2 separate regions of the Homo sapiens genome follow, and region 2 is linked to region 1. The links are contacts of gene promoters, found by promoter capture Hi-C in human tissues and cell types (Jung and others, 2019). All regions are on one chromosome and are shown on one strand. The core of a region is centred on a gene start or on the middle of the fragment in contact, and the rest is flanking DNA. Distances in the headings are between cores, read along the strand shown.

What was found. Contacts are between HindIII fragments. The study calls those that stand out against the background at their distance.
Region 2: a fragment that was not itself captured here is called in contact with the fragment with the promoter of UNCX in region 1 in 1 of the 25 tissues and cell types used here (dorsolateral prefrontal cortex).

Annotation. Positions count from the first base shown.
Region 1 is chr7:1,230,537-1,234,653 of GRCh38, forward strand. It overlaps UNCX (UNC homeobox), which reads left to right and starts at 2,336. Exons shown (of 3, transcript NM_001080461.3): 1 at 2,336-2,755; 2 at 2,984-3,159. The coding sequence starts at 2,482. RefSeq lists enhancers at 3,341-3,885, 4,058-4,117. The HindIII fragment of the contact is 11,886 bases long and covers 1-4,117 here.
Region 2 is chr7:1,395,048-1,399,164 of GRCh38, forward strand. No RefSeq gene overlaps it. Among named protein-coding and RNA genes, the nearest start is that of MICALL2, 62 kb to the right of the region's middle. The HindIII fragment of the contact is 6,630 bases long and covers 1-4,117 here.

The DNA of each region.
Region 1 (4,117 bases), core at 1,086-3,585:
CGGAGCGCGAGCCGGCCCGACAGCATGAAAAACACAGGGCGATTGAAATGCGAGCATTGGGACGCACGGAGCCGCCGCGGCGCGGACTCGCTCTTGAGGTCAAGTGACGGACGGATTGTATGCTTCTTCATAATAATATTAATTAAACAATTTGCATGCTAATAAGGTAACAATTATCAGGGCCTCTGTTGAAAGATTCGGGTTATTACAACACGCCAATCTGAAGGCCAGGGGTCAGAGAGTGAGAGGCGAGCGAAATTTCAACTCAAATTAACATTCTGTCAGCTCCAGAAAATGGGATAAATAAAGTCGAATTAATTCATTATAATAAAGAGAGATGGGCGAGGGAGCTCGGCCGGCGCGCGCCCCTCCTCTGCCCTCCCCCCGGGCCGAATAGATTACAGCTCTGTATTCAGAAACACGCGCCGCGCGCATTCCTCCTCGCGAACCCAACAGAAGACCAGGCGCTTGTGGCTGCTGGCGAAATCGAGTCGGATGGACGGAGTTTACATTTAGTATTTATAGAGACAGAAATTAAATTATGGCGAAAAGTAGTGCTCTTGGCCTCTGACCTCGGAATGAATACTCGCAGCGTTTTCCTAGTGAGACTGGAAACAGGGAGGGGGCTCCCCAAATTCCAGGCCGCCTCTCGGTCTCCTGGATTGGCTGGGCCTGGTCCTCAACCCTGCGCCGTCCCCTCCTCTCCCGCAAGGAGAGACAAGAGGGTCATTGAAGTCGGAGTCAGCGTGGATCGGCCCGTCCACGACCTTCAGTTAGGAACAGGGCCAGACTGTGGGTCCAGTCGCAGGGACAGGCAGTCGTGTGGCAGGACGGGGTGGCCTTGCGCCCGCCAACCCAAGCATTCCCCTCCTGAGCGTTTCCGGCACCCCCCACCCTCCCCGGCCCAGGCACGGGCACCTGACCCGGAGGGACGCAGAGATGCGCACGGTCCCGGCCTGCCCTTCCCTCTCACGCGGGCTAGGGCTTGGAGGCCTGGCCCAAGTCACTTACTTACACCCAAAGCCAACTGGTCTGTCACTTTGCCCTGGGGTGGTGGTGGCTCCGCAGACTGGCCCAGCCCAGGCCGGAGCTCTCCTCCTCTCTTCCCCGCCCTGGGCTGGCCGAGGCTCGGGGCACTCACTGCTGGAGAGGTGGCCCTAACCCAACTAGTCCAGCACTGGGGTCCCGCAGCCAAATGCGACCACCCCACTGACAAACTTTTTTACAAAGGAGAGAGATGGACCGACATCCCCTCATTTCTTTCCTTGCTGCCCACAATCCTGATTTGCTGCTTATTTAAGAATATATCCTTTAGTGATTTAGCTTTGAGTCTATCAATATTTTATAGCAGAGAAGGGAGTGACACTTCTCTGAGAACATAATTTAATTATAATAAATGGGTTGGGTGCTTCAGCCCCATCCTTCAGAGGCCGAGTCAGAGCGGATGTATTTATCTTTATTCGAGCGTGTAAGGGGGTGGGGGCGGATCGGCCCCACCCCAAAGTTACTTTTCCCCTCCTGTCCCCATCCCTCTCTCCTCCTCTGCGCCCGGGCTTTATGGGGATGGGGGTCGGGGAGCCTCCGCAGCCCCCCCCACCTCTGTCTTTGTAGATAGGGCGACTGCCAGTCAATCAGAGAGGGCATTAGTTACGCCTCTTTATTGACAGGGTGCTACATTCTGTAGTTCTTCTCTTTCGGGATCGCCCTCCTCCTCCTCCTCCTCCTCCTTCCTCCTCTCCCGCCGCCTGCAGCCGGAGAGGAGGAGATGAGAAGCCTTGTAGTTTTAAATTCAATGTGACAGTTTCGGAAAAGCGGATGATGAATCTCCTATTATTGGATCAGTCTATTTGCCGCTCAATGTCTCTCTGTAATTGGAGCAACATCACTTTAAAGGTTCAGAGAGTACAGCATTTCTGGTGAAAAATCCCCACAACACGGCGCTGAATGTTTTAAAGGGAAATCTATTAGTGATTTGCGGAGGGGCGGGGAGGCGGCGGCTGGCGGGAGGCGCGGGCTCGGGGCCGGCCCCGAGTGAAGTGGGGGGCTAGCTGGGGGCCCCTGCCCCGGGCCCAGGCACCAGCCCGCGCCTGCCCGGCCCTGGGCGGCCCCTCCCTCCCTCCCTCCCTCCCTCCGGCTCCCCCCGCCCCCAGCCCGTCTTGTTGTGACAGTTCCTGATACTGTTTATTGAGGTGCATGTCAGGTATAATTAGCAATCGATATGGAAAACGTTTCCCTGCACCCAGCACGCCTCTGACGTCAGAGCCGATTAGCGCTTCTTATTGGTCCCAAATTCCCCGGGCCGCGGCTAATTATCGGGAGCTTGATGTTGATAAGTAAAGCGCCGGAGTGCGGGCGAAGCATGTGTGGGGCTCCGGGTCCCTGTCTCCGCCGCCGCCGCCCGCGCCTCCCGCCGCTGGCCCGCCCCGGCCCCGGCCCGCGCCCCCGCGCCCCGCCACCGGCCCCGCCGGCCCCCCGCGCGAGATGATGGACGGCCGCCTCCTGGAACACCCGCATGCCCAGTTCGGGGGCTCGCTGGGCGGCGTGGTGGGCTTCCCCTACCCGCTGGGCCACCACCACGTGTACGAGCTGGCCGGGCACCAGCTGCAGTCGGCCGCCGCCGCCGCCTCGGTGCCCTTCTCCATCGACGGCCTGCTCGGGGGCTCGTGCGCCGCCGCCGCCTCGGTGGTCAACCCCACGCCGCTGCTGCCAGCCGCCTGCGGGGTCGGCGGGGACGGCCAGCCCTTCAAGCTGTCAGGTAGGCGCGGCGGGCGGGAGGGCGGGGAGGAGTGCGGCTGGGGGCGGGGGCCCTGGTCCGGCCGAGGCGCTGGGGGGCCCGGGGCTGGCGAAGGAGAGCCGGCTCCTAGGCGGCCGTCTCTGCGCCCCCCCCCCCGGATCCAGGCGGCCAGCGGGTAGCGGGAGGGAGGGGTGGGGGTCGGGCCTGGGCCGGTGGCTGAGCCGCGCTGCGTCCTGTGACTGCCCGCAGACTCGGGGGACCCGGACAAGGAGAGCCCGGGCTGCAAGCGGCGGCGCACCCGCACCAACTTCACCGGCTGGCAGCTGGAGGAGCTGGAGAAGGCGTTCAACGAGAGCCACTATCCCGACGTGTTCATGCGCGAGGCGCTGGCGCTGCGCCTAGACCTGGTCGAGTCCCGAGTTCAGGTAAAGACCCGGCGTCGCTCCCGGATCTGCCATCCGGACCCCAGGCTCTGGGCGCGCCGGGACGCCTTTGTTCCAGGTGGCGAGATATCGTCCCCTTGCCGCGGGCCCGCTTCGCGCTCGCCTGCTGGGGAAGAGTGGAGGGGTGGGGGTTCTGGGGCTCGGCCCCTCACGGACAGCGGGGTGGGTAACTGCCCCCCAAAAGCCTGGGCGGCTTGAGAAGGGCCGGCGGCAGCACCCGAGTCACCAGAACAGCGGCTGCGTCCGAACCGGGAAGCGGCGTGGTGGGTTGGCGGAGGCCGGGCCAAGTGAGGTCTCCAGGCAGGGGCGAGGAGGGGAGGAGGGGCCGGCTTGGCTCCGACCCGGAGGAGAGAGGGAAGGGGACCCCCCCCCGCCCCCGCACCGCCTCAACCTTCCGCGCGAGGCTCTGTCACCCAGCCTGGAGCGAACGAGTCTGTTTACCTTGCGCCTGCAAAATATTCAGATGGAAACATGTATTTATTCATCGCTTTGCAGAAGGGAACAGCTGAGGAAGGGGAGGCAGAAGCTTAAACAGTTAACACATTGAGAAAGTGGGAGAAAAAAAGGTGTCTGAATTTTTAATAATAACCCCGGTCTCATCTTTTTCTTACGACTGTTTTCCCGTAAATTTGCTATCATTTGGAGATGGCTGATGGTATTGTTTTAAAAATACAGTGTCAGCTTGGTGGATTAAAAATTCCAAGATGATTTGTGCATAATTAAATGTTTCCCTGGAGCAAAGAAATCCTCTTTTTCTGCGGTGGGTGCGGTGTGGGGTCCAGGTCTGTGGTGCGGTGTGCGGTTGTGGGTGCTAGGCGTTGAGGCAGACGCTGGCAAAACGCCTGTTTATCACCAATAGCTTTGTCTAAAAAGGTGTGTTTGTCCTGCGCTTGGACCTCCTCTCATGACCTCTTCTGCTTGGAAATCCTTTCATCCAATT
Region 2 (4,117 bases), core at 666-3,165, 160 kb after region 1:
ACCTCCAGCCCTGCAGAATCTGCCCCCACCTGCTCCATCCACCTGAGGCCTCCTCTTTTCTTCCCAGGTGGGTGTCTGGTTATGGGGGGATTGGAGAAGGCACTTGGGGTGCAAGAACCCAGACACTCGAAGGAAGAGGCCAGGGAGGGGTGGTGCAGGCCCCAACGAGCCTGGGCTGCTGTGCCTGCCCTGCGCCACAGTCTGGAGGACCAGGACGTCAGGGGCCGCTGGGGTGGGGAGTCAGGGGGGCAATGCCCCAGTCTCAGCCCCCAGCACCCAGCGTTGTCCACACCTCCTCACAGAAAGCAGTTCCAAGCACAGCCTAATTTATTAATGAGGACGGGAGGCTGCTGATGGCAGCAAACGCTGACCAGTCCGGATCGATGGGGGCCCCGATAGCAGAGTGATTGGCCTGCCGCGTCTGGAGTCTAACTGCAGCGCCGGGCACCTTCCGAGGGGCTCGCGCTGTCTGACTGCACCCCGGAGACCGCCAGGGTTAATTGATGCAGCTGCGTGCTTCCCGCCCACAGGACTTCCGGTGGGATCCCCTGGAGGCTGCTATTAACTAAAGTGTTTAACGAAGTGCTAAAGAAGACCATTTCCAATACGCACTCCAACAGCCAGATTAAAAGAAGAACAGTGTCCCTCTCTGGGCTGTGGGACACCCCCAAATCCCTGGAAGAAGACACGGGAGCCCAGAGCTCTGCTGTTACCCATGCAGAGAAGCACCAGCCTGCAGGCTTGCCAGGCGTCACGTGGCCAGGGGGGCCCGGGGGCAGGCTCCCAGCCTCCTCTCTCAGGCTACCCCTGGGTCTGGGTCCCAGACGGGGCTCTGCTCGGGAGGGTTGGCTGCCCAGGATCCCGCCCAGTGTCGGGGGAAGTGTTCTTCAGTCCTCGGCTGAGTCTGGGGACAGCAGAGCTGGCACAACCCCTCAGCCTCACACTGCACTCTGGGCCTGCACCCCCAGTGGCCAGGCCTCCAGCCCTGGCTGCCAGACCTGCATGACCACTGAGGAAGCAGATCCCTGGACCCATCTCCAGCCCTGAGGAATCTAGACCTCCGGACCTCACATTCACATTTTTCAACTTATTTATTTGTTAAATAGCTAATGTGGTCACAAGCCTTGAGATTTTCAAAGTAGGGAAAGGTCTCTGTGTGCCCCTAAAAGAAGAAAATGCTTCTCAAAATAACCAGAAACCGGAAATGTCCAAACCTCCATGAACAGGAGAATGGGTAAATAAATTGTGCTCTAGTCACACGATGGAATACTATGCAGCAGTGAAAAAGGGCACCGGAGGGGTGCACAAACCACATAGGTGAGTCTCACAGCATAGGAGGCAGCAACTGTGCAATCCCAGTCAGGAAGTTCAGGAACAGGCAGCATTCTGACGGATAAAGTTTCCAGGAAAATGGGCATCTCAGTGTGTCGGGGGATGGGGTATTGTGGGCTGGGAGGGGCATGAGGGAGCCTGCAGGGGGCTGGCCTCGTTCCCGCTGTTGTCCAGGGGGTGGTCACCTGGCCCTGTTCACTTTGTGAAGTTCATTGTGCTGCTGAGGCTGCAGGCACTTTCTGGAATGCGCACTATATGCCAATAATGTATTCACTTGGCTTTCTTAGGGAGAGGAGGTTTACAGAGAAAAATGCTCATCCCACTCTGTCCCCAGCCACCCAGCTCCCCTCCAATAATCAATGTCCATGTCACGTTGTGCTATGGGCCCTTCCAGAGATTCCCCACCCAGCTCCCCTCCAATGGCCAATGTCCATGTCATGGTTTGCTATGGGCCCTTCCAGAGATTCCCCATACCTATGAACGCACACACACCTGCAGATATAACGAGCACCCCGGTGACCATGACGATCGGGTGAGCAGCATGGGCAACGTTGCACCCCAGATCAGCCCGAGAGCAGCCAAGGCCCCCACAGCTGCACACCATTTAGCCAGGGCCTAGCGTCACTCAGGGCCTTTGCCCATCAGTGGAGTTTTCCCAAAATATACACAAACGCATATGCACACAGTTAGCTTTTCTTTCTTTCTTTCTTTCTTTTTTTTTTTTGAGACAAAGTCTCACTGTTGCCCCAGCTGGAGTGCAGTGGCACCCTCTTGGCTCACTGCAACTTCCACTTCCCAGGTTCAAGTGATTCTCCTGCTGCAGCCTCCCGAGTAGCTGGGATTACAGGTGCGCACCACCACGCCTGGCTAATTTTTTGTATTTTTAGTAGAGAGGGAGTTTCGCCATGTTGGCCTCGAACTCCTGGTCTCAAACTCCTGACCTCGGGTGATCTGCCCACCTTGGCCTCCCAAAGGGCTGGGATTACAGACGTGAGCCATTGTGCTCAGCCCAGTTCGCTTTTTGAACTAAAGTAAAATGTTGAGCAGACATTTTCATTGTGTCAGGTTCAGCCAGTGGGAGTTTGGTATGCTAATGGCCCCAAGTGCAGACAGCAGCCATCAGTTAAAGCACCTGGGAAATGCAAATCAAAGCCACGGTGCGGTGTCACTTCCCTCCCTAAGATGGCTACAGTGAAAAAGACAGCAACAAGTGCTGGTGAGCATGTGGAGGAATCAGAATTCTCATGCCGTGCCAGCGGGAACGTGAACCACTGCAGCTGCTGCAGAAAACAGCCTGGCCATTCCTGGAAATGTTCAGGATTGTGTCACCATATGACTCAGCACTTCCAGTACTAGGTTTGAATGGAATTGGGACCATACGGCCACAGAAAAACGTGTACCTGAATGTTCACGGCAGCACTATTCACAAGAGCTAAAAGGTGGGAGCGACCCAGGTGTCCATCTGGGGATGAATATGGATAAACACAAGGTGGTAGATCCACAGAGTGGAATATTACTGAGCCATGAAAAGGAATGGAGCTCTGATACATGCCACAGCCTGGGTGAACCTTGGAAACATTACACAAAGTGAAAGAACACGGACACAAAAGACCACATATTGAATGCTCCCATTTATGTGAAATTTCCAAATAGGCAAATCTACAGAGACAGAAGGTAGAATGATGTTGCCAAGGGGAGGGGAGAGGTAGAAATGGACAGTAACTGCTCAATGGGCATGAGGTTTATTTTAGAGGAGATAAAAATGTTTTGAAATTAGACAGTGATGATGGTTGCACAACTCTGTGGATATACTAAAAAAAAAAAAAAATACTGGGGCTGGGTGTGGTGATTCATGCCTATAATCCCAGCACTTTGGGAGGCCAAGGCAGGCGAATTGCTTGAACCCAAGTGTTCAAGACCAGCCTGGGTAACATAGCGAGATGACATCTCTAAAAAAAAAAATACAAAGATTAGCCGGGTGCGGTGGTGCGTGCCTGTATTACCAGCACTTTGAGAGGCTGAGGAAGGCAGATTGCTTGAGCCTGGGAGTTCAAGATCAGCCTCAGCAACATGGCAAAACCCTGTCTGTACAAAAAATACAAAAATTAGCTGGGCATGGTGGTAGCATGCATCTGTAGTCCCAGCTGCTCGGAAGGCTAAAGTGGAAGGATCGCCTGAGCCCTGGAGGTTAAGGCTGCAGTGAGGTATGATTGCACCACTGCACTCCAGCCTGGGCTACAGAGAGACCTTGACTCAAAAAAAAAAAATCACCAAATTATACATTCTAAAAGAGTGAGTGGGGCCGGGCACAGTAGCTCACACCTGTAATCTCAGCACTTTGGGAGGCTAAGGTGGGCAGATCACTTGAGGTCAGGAGTTCAAGACCAGCTTGAGCAATATGCCGAAACCCCGTCTCTACAAAAACTACAAACATTAGCCGGGCATGGTGGTGCGTGCCTGTAGTCCCAGGTACTTGGAAGGCTGAGGCACGAGAATCCCTTAAACTCAGGAGGTGGAGGTTGCAGTGAACCAAGATCGTGCCACTACATTCTAGCCTGGGCAACAGAGCAAGACTCCATCTCAAAAATAAATAAATAACATAAAATAAGCAAGTGGGTGGTATGGTAGGTGAATTATGTCTTAATAAACTGTTAGAAGACAAAGAGGACCGGGTCACAGGGCCACCAGAGCCAGGCTGGGGCGAAGGACCTGCTTCCGTAGCCAGTGTTGGTCACCACCCAGATAGACAACAGCTCCCAGATTTCTCCAGCAGCCCAGGGGTGAG